2 separate regions of the Homo sapiens genome follow, and region 2 is linked to region 1. Evidence: promoter capture Hi-C in human tissues and cell types (Jung and others, 2019). All regions are on one chromosome and are shown on one strand. The core of a region is centred on a gene start or on the middle of the fragment in contact, and the rest is flanking DNA. Distances in the headings are between cores, read along the strand shown. Region 1 holds the start of ABCD2 (ATP binding cassette subfamily D member 2). Region 2 overlaps LRRK2-DT (LRRK2 divergent transcript).

Region 1 (4,234 bases), core at 253-2,752:
TAGTCTTAGTTTCTAAATATATATTTTCTTCTGGTAGGTGCTTTAGGATGACCTACCAAGTTGGGATTTAAGTTTTAAGAAAATGCGTTAGAAATAATTCTGAGCATATTTGAGTAACTGAGGCTAAGTAGACTTTTTTAGAGTGTTGCAAATTTTATTCTTCTGAAACTTTAGAAAAGTTTGCACCCTATAATCCTTTAACTGGTTACAGTTAAAAGGGGTAATGAAGCATATATTTTAATTCAGGTTTAGATGTCAGAGGAATCTAAGACACTAAAGAAGTGGGTCCATCGACAGGACAACAGATGGTATCTGGCACTGCAGTGGCAACTTGAACAGTTTCACATTTCACCCATCACCTTAATTTCTATCTTACCTTATGTCCTCTGTAAAAGGCAATTTCTTCTACATTGGCTATAATTCTCGAGTGCACATACCGCAAATAGCCTTTTCTATGTGCTTCCTCTGCCACCAGTTTGCCAAATTTGGGAGAACAGGCTTTTAACACTTTAGCAGTGGCATACACCACAAGTCCTGCTAGTAGGGTGGGCCCAATTGGGCTTGCTCCTCTGGATGTAGCAGTTTGAATGAGTGTATAGGAGGTCAGCATTACATCTAAAATAGGTTTGGTCAGATTGGAATACAAGTGAGCCACAGATTGGGAGAACATCATAATATCCTCCGTAAGAGATTGGTCAGGGTTTGCCAGCCTCCCATCCATATTGATCACTTTATAATAAGTCTGATTTGTAAAATAGGTTTCATAGGCGTGGTCTACTAGGCGAGTTCTGAAGGCCAAAGCCAATTTGCATTCCAGGTACCTTATTGCACTGTTGACGAAGGTAGCAGGGATGGCAATCATAAGCCACTTGATTAATTTGATGATGAAAGTCCGAGGCTTCTTTTCCACAATGCTTTTCACGATTTTTCCATCCAGACCAGCCACATAGATAGAAAGAAAGGTTCTTGAGATTAGAGCCACTGAGTGCAGGCAGAGCCACCCTGTTTCAGTGGTCACAAGTTTTGGAAACAAAATTTTCCGAAGTTCTAGTAGCTGTTTGAAGAAATCTGCATTCACTCCAGGCGAAGGTTTTTCACAAATGGTCTCGGTGCAATGCAGTATTTCTGTGTTCTCTGCAGCAGGGTAAGCTGCTGCTTTTTTCTTCCCGTGGCCAGATTGCTTTAAACGCTTGCCAATGATGGGATAGAGGGTTTTCAGAGCATATGCCGCAGCCACCAGGCAGGCAGCCCTCTTAGCAGCACTCGATCTGGTCCATTTCACTCGATCAGCTGCTGCATTTAGCATATGTGTCATTTTCCCAGTTACCCAAACCGGCTTCCAAAAGAATTCGTTTTAAAAGATCATGCTTCACAGAAATCCCCAGCAAATGTTTTAGAAAGTCCTACAGCGTCCCATAGTCTGCAGCGTTTCTCTTCCACTGTTGTGTTTTTAATTTTGTTCTGCTGTGACAGATGCAGCAGAGCTCAGACTCCGCTGCATCTACCGGGAATGATTCTCTCAGAAGCTCAAGCTGCACCAAGCTCCTCCCTCCCAGGCCCCTCATTGGCTGTGAGGGCGGTGGGACCTTGGAATCCTCGCAGCTTCCCTTTGAACCTTGAAAATGAGGAGAGAGCAAAGCGAATTACATCCTTCCTTAAACAGGAGTTCAGAGAGTTAAAATGTCTATTTTTGGAGAGGTCGAATCAGGCCATCTGCTGGCGAACAAAACCGGCTCTAGCTACTGAGCATGCTCAGTGTCACTTAGAAACCCACAGAAGTTTCAGAATATACATCACTTCGGTAAGATTTCAGTAGATACCGCAAACAGAAGAGCAAGCAGAAAGGGAGATTTCCAAGCGAACAAAACCGGCCCTAGCTACTGAGCATGCTCAATGTCACTTAGAAACCCGCAGAAGTTTCAGAATATACATCACTTCGGTAAGATTTCAGCAGCTACCGCAAACAGAAGAGCAAGCAGAAAGGGAGATTTGCAAGAGTTTTAATGAGACGAGGAGGGAGAAGGAACCACGAAAATGAGGGAGGAGGGACAAGAGGATCAACATAAAATGAATATGAAAAGGATATGGAATGAATCTGAAACGGATCAGAAAAGAAAGTGACAAGTGGGAGGGACACCGGAGAATGCCAAATATCAAATACACTTGGATCTGTTTTTCACAGATCCCCCCGGCTTTTTTGGGGGTCTGATTTCACAAAAGGTCTCAGAACCTAATAGACAAGTTGTAATCGAGGGTTTCCCTTGTAAATAAATAGGATAAAAGTCTTCCGTGTTACAGAAAATAATTATTTGCTATGCCTCTAGCCATTCTCCCTTTTTCCTCTGCATCCTACTTGTCCTTATGCTAAAAATCTTCCAGCCCCATAACTGGAGATCTGATGTACTCATATTTATTTACAAGGTGACGACTATTAAATAAATGAGAGCAATGTTTCATGTTTACTACTCCCATGTGTTAGGTAGTTTTTACTTGGAGTGGGGTAGCACTTATAGTGAAAGTTTAACCATTTGGGAATTCAGCTGGTGTTGGATGGTGGAAATAGCTTCTCTAGGACCTTACTTCATTTTTCAAGAATGCTTTGTCTTTTGCAGGTTTCTGCTTTGTTTGTTTTGTTTAGCTGTAGAGATAATCTACTGGCTACTTCCTATTTCCATTTGGTTATTTGATAAAAACTAAGAGTCTTAAAATTCTTCACATCCATAATGGAGGATTTAAATTGTTCAACAGTCAAGGACAATTCTGCATATTTTTGAAAATGTAAAAAGCTTTTTTTTTTTTTTTTTTTTTTTTTTTTATGAGACAGAGTCTCTCTCTGTCACCCAGGCTGGAGTGCAGTGGCACGATCTCAGCTCACTGCAGCCTCCGCCTCCCAGGTTGGTGCCTCAGCAGCCCGAGTAGCTGGGATTACGAGGGTGCGCCTACCATACTTGGCTAATTTCTGTAGTTTTAGTAGAGATGGGTTTTGCCATGTTTGCCAGGCTGGTCTCAACCTCCTGGCCTCAAGTGATCCACCTGCCTTAGCCTCCCAAAGTGCTCGGATTATAGACGTGGGCCACCACGCCCAGCCAAGAGCATTTTTTAAGTCAGGGCTGAGTATATTTTTGGATATGGAAAAACCATTTTTTTTGCTCTTCACTGTCCCCGCCCCCCATCTCATTAAAATTCTCGGAAATCTCCCTTTCTGCTTGCTCTTCTGCTTGTGGTATCTACTGAAATCTTACAAAAGTGATATATATTCTGAAACTTCTGGGGATTTCTAAGTGACACTGAGTATGCTCAGTAGCTACAGCCAGTTTTGTTCACCAGCAGCTGGCCCCCAACATACATACACATTTCCAGTCAATTAAAAGCTTAGGAAAATATGCATCAAGCTAGAACAGAAGTTGGCAAATTACAACTGGTGGGCCAAATCTAGCCTGCCACTTAATTTTATATGACCCTTAAGCTAGGAATGATTTTTACATTTTTAAAGTGGTTGAAAATACTTCAAAACAAGAATATTTTGTCCTGTGAAAATTATATAAAATTCTCATTTTTGTGTTTATAAATAAAGTTTTATTGGAAAACAGTCACACCCATTCATTTACTCTCTGTCTATGGCTTCTTTCAAGCCACAGTGGTGGATGCAACAAAGACTAAAATATGTACTATTTGGCCCTTTATAGAAGTTTGCAAACCTCTGTGCTAGAATATAAAACCCATCTCAGCATTAAATGATCTTCATTACTGAGTTTATCACAAAGAACTATCCTCACTTTCATAAGTAACCATATTCTTAAAATTTTAAAACTTCTTTCTTATGTACTCATATTAATTCTGACAATCATCACATATCTCTTCATTTGTTTGCATTCAATTCAGCAGACTGACTGACACATGAGTGTCAAACTCATGCAAGTTTTTTTGATAGCTGGCCATATTAGTAGCATAATCCATCATCCCATTAAGACTTTTTAAGCCTGTATGTACAGATAATAGTGGTCATGGAAGTTATTGCCAAAATCTTTTATTCCTAAGCTCTTGCTTTTGTTGTATGCAAGATAAGGTTGCCTTTCATTTATGTCACATCTCCTAACAGCTACACACAAAAGGGTTAGCAGTGACAGGACAGGTTAAAGGCCAGAGTAAACCTAACTGGGGGTGATGGCAGGATGTTGTTAGGCAGAACATGGTACACAGAAGGATGCAGACAGCAGCTGGCAGTCGAGGCAAG
Region 2 (4,319 bases), core at 132-2,631, 570 kb after region 1:
TTGGAATCACCTCTAACATTGTGTGCTTAGATATATGATGAGTGATAGTAAGTGTAGGCATTCTTGTTTTATTTTTACATTATTGGAAAAAAAGTGTATTTGCTTGAAATTTTGCTCATTAAGCTTGGCTATATGACTGCCATCAAGGTAAAGAAGCTTATCTGGAATGGATAATTTTCTCAAGCTCTGTTTGATGAAGTGAGATGCTGTCAAGATTCTCTTTACCATCAGCCCCAGGGATTTTTGACCTCATTTATCTGCAGATCTTTCTTCCTTTAAATGCAAAGTTAGAGTTCATTATTGAATGTGCCTCAACTTGTGTTTACATTTACTTAAGTTTATTTATTTTTTCTTCTTCAGAGCTTGAATTGTAAACTCTGCTTTAGAAGTAGTACAAATCTTCTTCACTCCCCCCATTTCATCCATCCCAGGAACATTCAAAGAAAATTCTTAGAGGTGAATCTGTAAAGGGGAATTAAAGGCAAGCATTGATTCCAGGAAAGATGGAGCAACAACAGCTTTTGCTTCTGGGGCTACAGTGACTTTGCCAACAGTAAGAAGAGTCTCAGAAATTGAGAAAAAAATAAGAAATAGGTTATTTATCTTGAGGCACATCGTTGACCACATATCCAGGCTCTTCCTTCACTTTTAGTTATGAAGCTTACCCTTTTCAATGACCTAGTGGCCTAAATCTCAAGGCAGCCTTAATTAAGGATACAATTTTCAGCTGAGAAACCAAGTTACAGCAAGATATTAAGTTTTTTTTTTCATAGATGTTAGTGTTTTAAAAAAAATAGTTATGTTGAGAAGGCAAAGGATCACTTATAGGTGATTTTAAGAATCAAAAGGATCCTTTGATATGCTTCTAGATAAAACATGTTGGCAATTTTCTACTTGATAATTGATGTACTATTGAGGTCATCACTAATCATTAAAAATATATGGATGGGTCACTTCTGATCAGATATTGTAGAATCGTTGGTATCTAGGTCGTACAATTTTAGAAAGTTCAGGAAAATGTCCCTGGCTCTCATTATCTCCCACATCTGACAGCAGTGATGTAGACATTTGATTCTTTGATTTGGGACTTTTCCTTTCCGGGAATGATCAGTAGAAATCCAAACACTGTGGATGTGGTAAGGCATATACAGTTACTACTCTTTTCACCTTAGAATAAGTTACTTCATCTGTTATCTGGAGAATGAATGGAACAAGACTGAAAGGGATTATATATTAATCATCACTTATCAGCCAGAGTGCCATATGAGGCCTCTAAATAGAGTTGGGATAGGTGGTTGGATAGAGACATAAAAGCCTAATCTCAGCTTTGCTATTATCAACAGGGCATCCTTGTGAAAGTCACCTCCCTTCCCCGGGTTTCAATTTCCTAATTTAGAAAAGGGTATTAGATTAGAATGATCTCTTGGTTACTGCCCAGTAATGTGAACCCCAAAGATCTGAAACAGGTCTCAGTTAATTTAGGAATTTTATTTTGCCAAGGTTGAGGACACACACCTGTGACACAGCCTCAGGAAGTCCTGACAACATGTGCCCAAGATGGTCAGAGCACAGCTCGGTTTTGTACATTTTAGGGAGACATGAGACATCAATCAACATATGTAAAATGAACATTAATTTGGTCCAGAAAGGTGGGACAACTTGAAGCAAAGGTGGGACAACTTGAAGCAAAGGTGGGACAACTCAAAGAGGGGACAGGCTTCAGGGCACAGGTTGGTGAGAGACAAATGGTTTAATTCTTTTGAGTTTCTGATTAGCCTTTCCAAAGGAGGCAATCAGATATGCATTTATCTCAGTGAGCAGAAGGATGACTTTGAATAGAATGGGAAGCAGGTTGACCCTAAGCAGTTCCCAGCTTGAATTTTCCCTGTAGCTTAGGGCTTTTGGGGGCCCAAGATATTTTCCTTTCACATTTCCCCCCTTTTCTTTCTAAAAATCTTTTGGAGAAAGCATTTTAGAAGAAAATGAGCCTCAGGTTCCAAGTTTTGTCTGATCTCTCATGGCTAGGATGGTTTATTCCTAGACAGGTAGGTCCTGAGTTATTAGGAAAGGTCATTTTTAGAAGGTTGTGAAGTCTCATATTCTATGAAGAGAAAATACAGAGAGGAAGGGAGAAAAACAACAACAAACAAAAGAACAATCCTGGAAAATTGATATAGGCCACATTACTCTAAAGTCCATACATTAGTAGATAGGTATGAAAGTTGTTTATGTATGTAAATAGGTTGCTGTTATTTTCTTCTGAAGTTTAAGTTGTCTAGCTTCAGTTCACAGGGCTTTACAGAAGCACAGCTTAGTTTTCAGTGACTGCAAATTAGGAAAAATGGGGGAAAGAAGCAGGGGAAAAAATGAAAAATGCTATATTGAAGAGTTGTAGCCAAGAAAAATTAGAATTAGGTCCAAATGGTAGAAAATAATAAAAATGGAAAAACATTAGGCAAGATTAGAATCTAACAACAGGTGTACTATAGTTTTTGAAACATAATTTTTCTGTCTCCAGTTTCCCATTTTTACTAAAGACAAATCATGGTAAGACTGGTTTGTTTTATTATACTGGGTCTAATTATTTGTATACAGTGCAGCAAGAATAATTATTTTTTTACATAGGCTTTTATTTTATTTATTTATTTATTTGAGATGGAGTCTCACTCTGTCACTGAGGCTGGAGTGCAGAGAAGTGATACTGGCTCACTGCAACCTCCGCCTCCCAGGTTCAAATTATTCTTATGCCTCAGCCTCCTGAGTAGCTGGGATTACAGTTGCCTACCACCACACCTGGCTACTTTTTGTATTTTTGGTGGAGGAAGAGTTTCATTATGTTGGCCAGGCTGGTCTCAAACTCCTGACCTCAAGTAATCCGCCTGTCTCGGCTTCCTAAAATGCTGGGATTACAGGTGTAAGCCACTGTAGCTGGCCTTACATAGGCTTTTAAATTCGATTTGATGGAACTGTGTTCCACAGAAAGAGTCCCAGATAAGACTTTCTAAAGCCGAGCCAGGCTATGGATTTGTGCCATTAAATACCTATGAGTTCAACGATCCTCTCCTCCTGAGGTTCCAAGATAAACTTAGGGCTCCTGGCTCCTGTTAGAAAGTGACAATCCTTACTTGCCACAAGTCAGAAAACATGTACAGGGGCTATGTAGACAAAGGTATGAGGCCAGTTTTTCCAAGGGTCTTTTATTTGCTCCATAAATCAAGTTTCATTCCTTAAAGGAAAGCACACCATTTCAGTAAAAGCCTTGGTAAAATAACCAGTTTCTCGAATTATGTCCTGTTATAAATGAAAGATTCTTATTACACTTATGCAAATAACTATATTGTCATAAGTTAAGAATACTCACAAATAGTTTCCAAATTTTGGAGAAATCAGGTAGAGAGAAAAAAATATGCTCCAAATTTTGTTCACAGGAGTATACCTTACTCAATTATTAAAAGCTGTAAACAGCTTAAAAGTTTTCTTGACTCTGGAAAACAAAATAAAGAATCAACAATATTTTAACCAAAAAGTTAAAAAGATTACTTTAGTCTTCTATTAGTTCAGTTCATGCAGTTTACTCCTGTTCTCCTTGATATTCATGAATATTTCAGCTCTCCATGAGAGTATTGAAAGTTTTTTCCTCCATTGTAATGTCACAATCTCCAAAGTTATCAGAAACCTGCTTTTAAGGACACCTGTTAGAGTTCTATAGCTGATTATAAAACCACATTCTAAGGAGGAGCAAAACAAGACAACAATTGTCCATGGATGACAAAAAGTTTTATGGCAGTCATAGTCAAAAACACAATTGATAAGGAAATTTGTTACCTCTGTGGCACACAATAATTTAACATAACAATTATAATTATTACTGATAATGTACACTATTATAATTATTACTGATAATGTACACTTAGTCACATCAGAAACATAGAAGTTTCCCATAATTTTGGAACACATAGCAGTAACATATTTGTACAAATACAGCCTAAAGAAAAACAAATGTCATTTCATATTTGACAATGTTTCCTGTATAATTTGTATACGAAATAAGCCAAATTATATCATTTTTGGACTTTAGGGAAACTAATGTCTTAAAGGATCAGTTAGGTCAGAAAAAGACATGTTATAATTTTATTTTGGAAAGCTTGTCAAATATCAAAGGTTTAAAACACTTGATGTCACAGGTAATTGTACAATAAATCATTTATTTGACCAAAGTGATAACTCAAGAATTTCAAAAAAAAGGTAAAAACCTTCATTCTTTGAGAGAGGAGACTGAATTTTCCAAACAATAAGCCCTAATAAAAACAACATGAAGC

The links. The method cuts DNA at HindIII sites, captures the fragments that hold promoters and counts their contacts. A contact is called where the count stands out against the background at its distance.
Region 2: a contact is called between a fragment that was not itself captured here and the fragment with the promoter of ABCD2 in region 1, in 1 of the 25 tissues and cell types used here (hippocampus).

What each region holds. Positions count from the first base shown.
Region 1 is chr12:39,618,301-39,622,534 of GRCh38, forward strand. ABCD2 (ATP binding cassette subfamily D member 2) reads right to left here and starts at 1,503. Exons shown (of 10, transcript NM_005164.4): 1 at 377-1,503. The coding sequence starts at 1,315. RefSeq lists enhancers at 905-984, 1,295-1,814, 3,044-3,123. The HindIII fragment of the contact is 5,264 bases long and covers 1-3,078 here.
Region 2 is chr12:40,185,722-40,190,040 of GRCh38, forward strand. The region is part of intron 1 of LRRK2-DT (LRRK2 divergent transcript); the gene reads right to left. Among named protein-coding and RNA genes, the nearest start is that of LINC02471, 32 kb to the left of the region's middle. The HindIII fragment of the contact is 7,808 bases long and covers 1-4,319 here.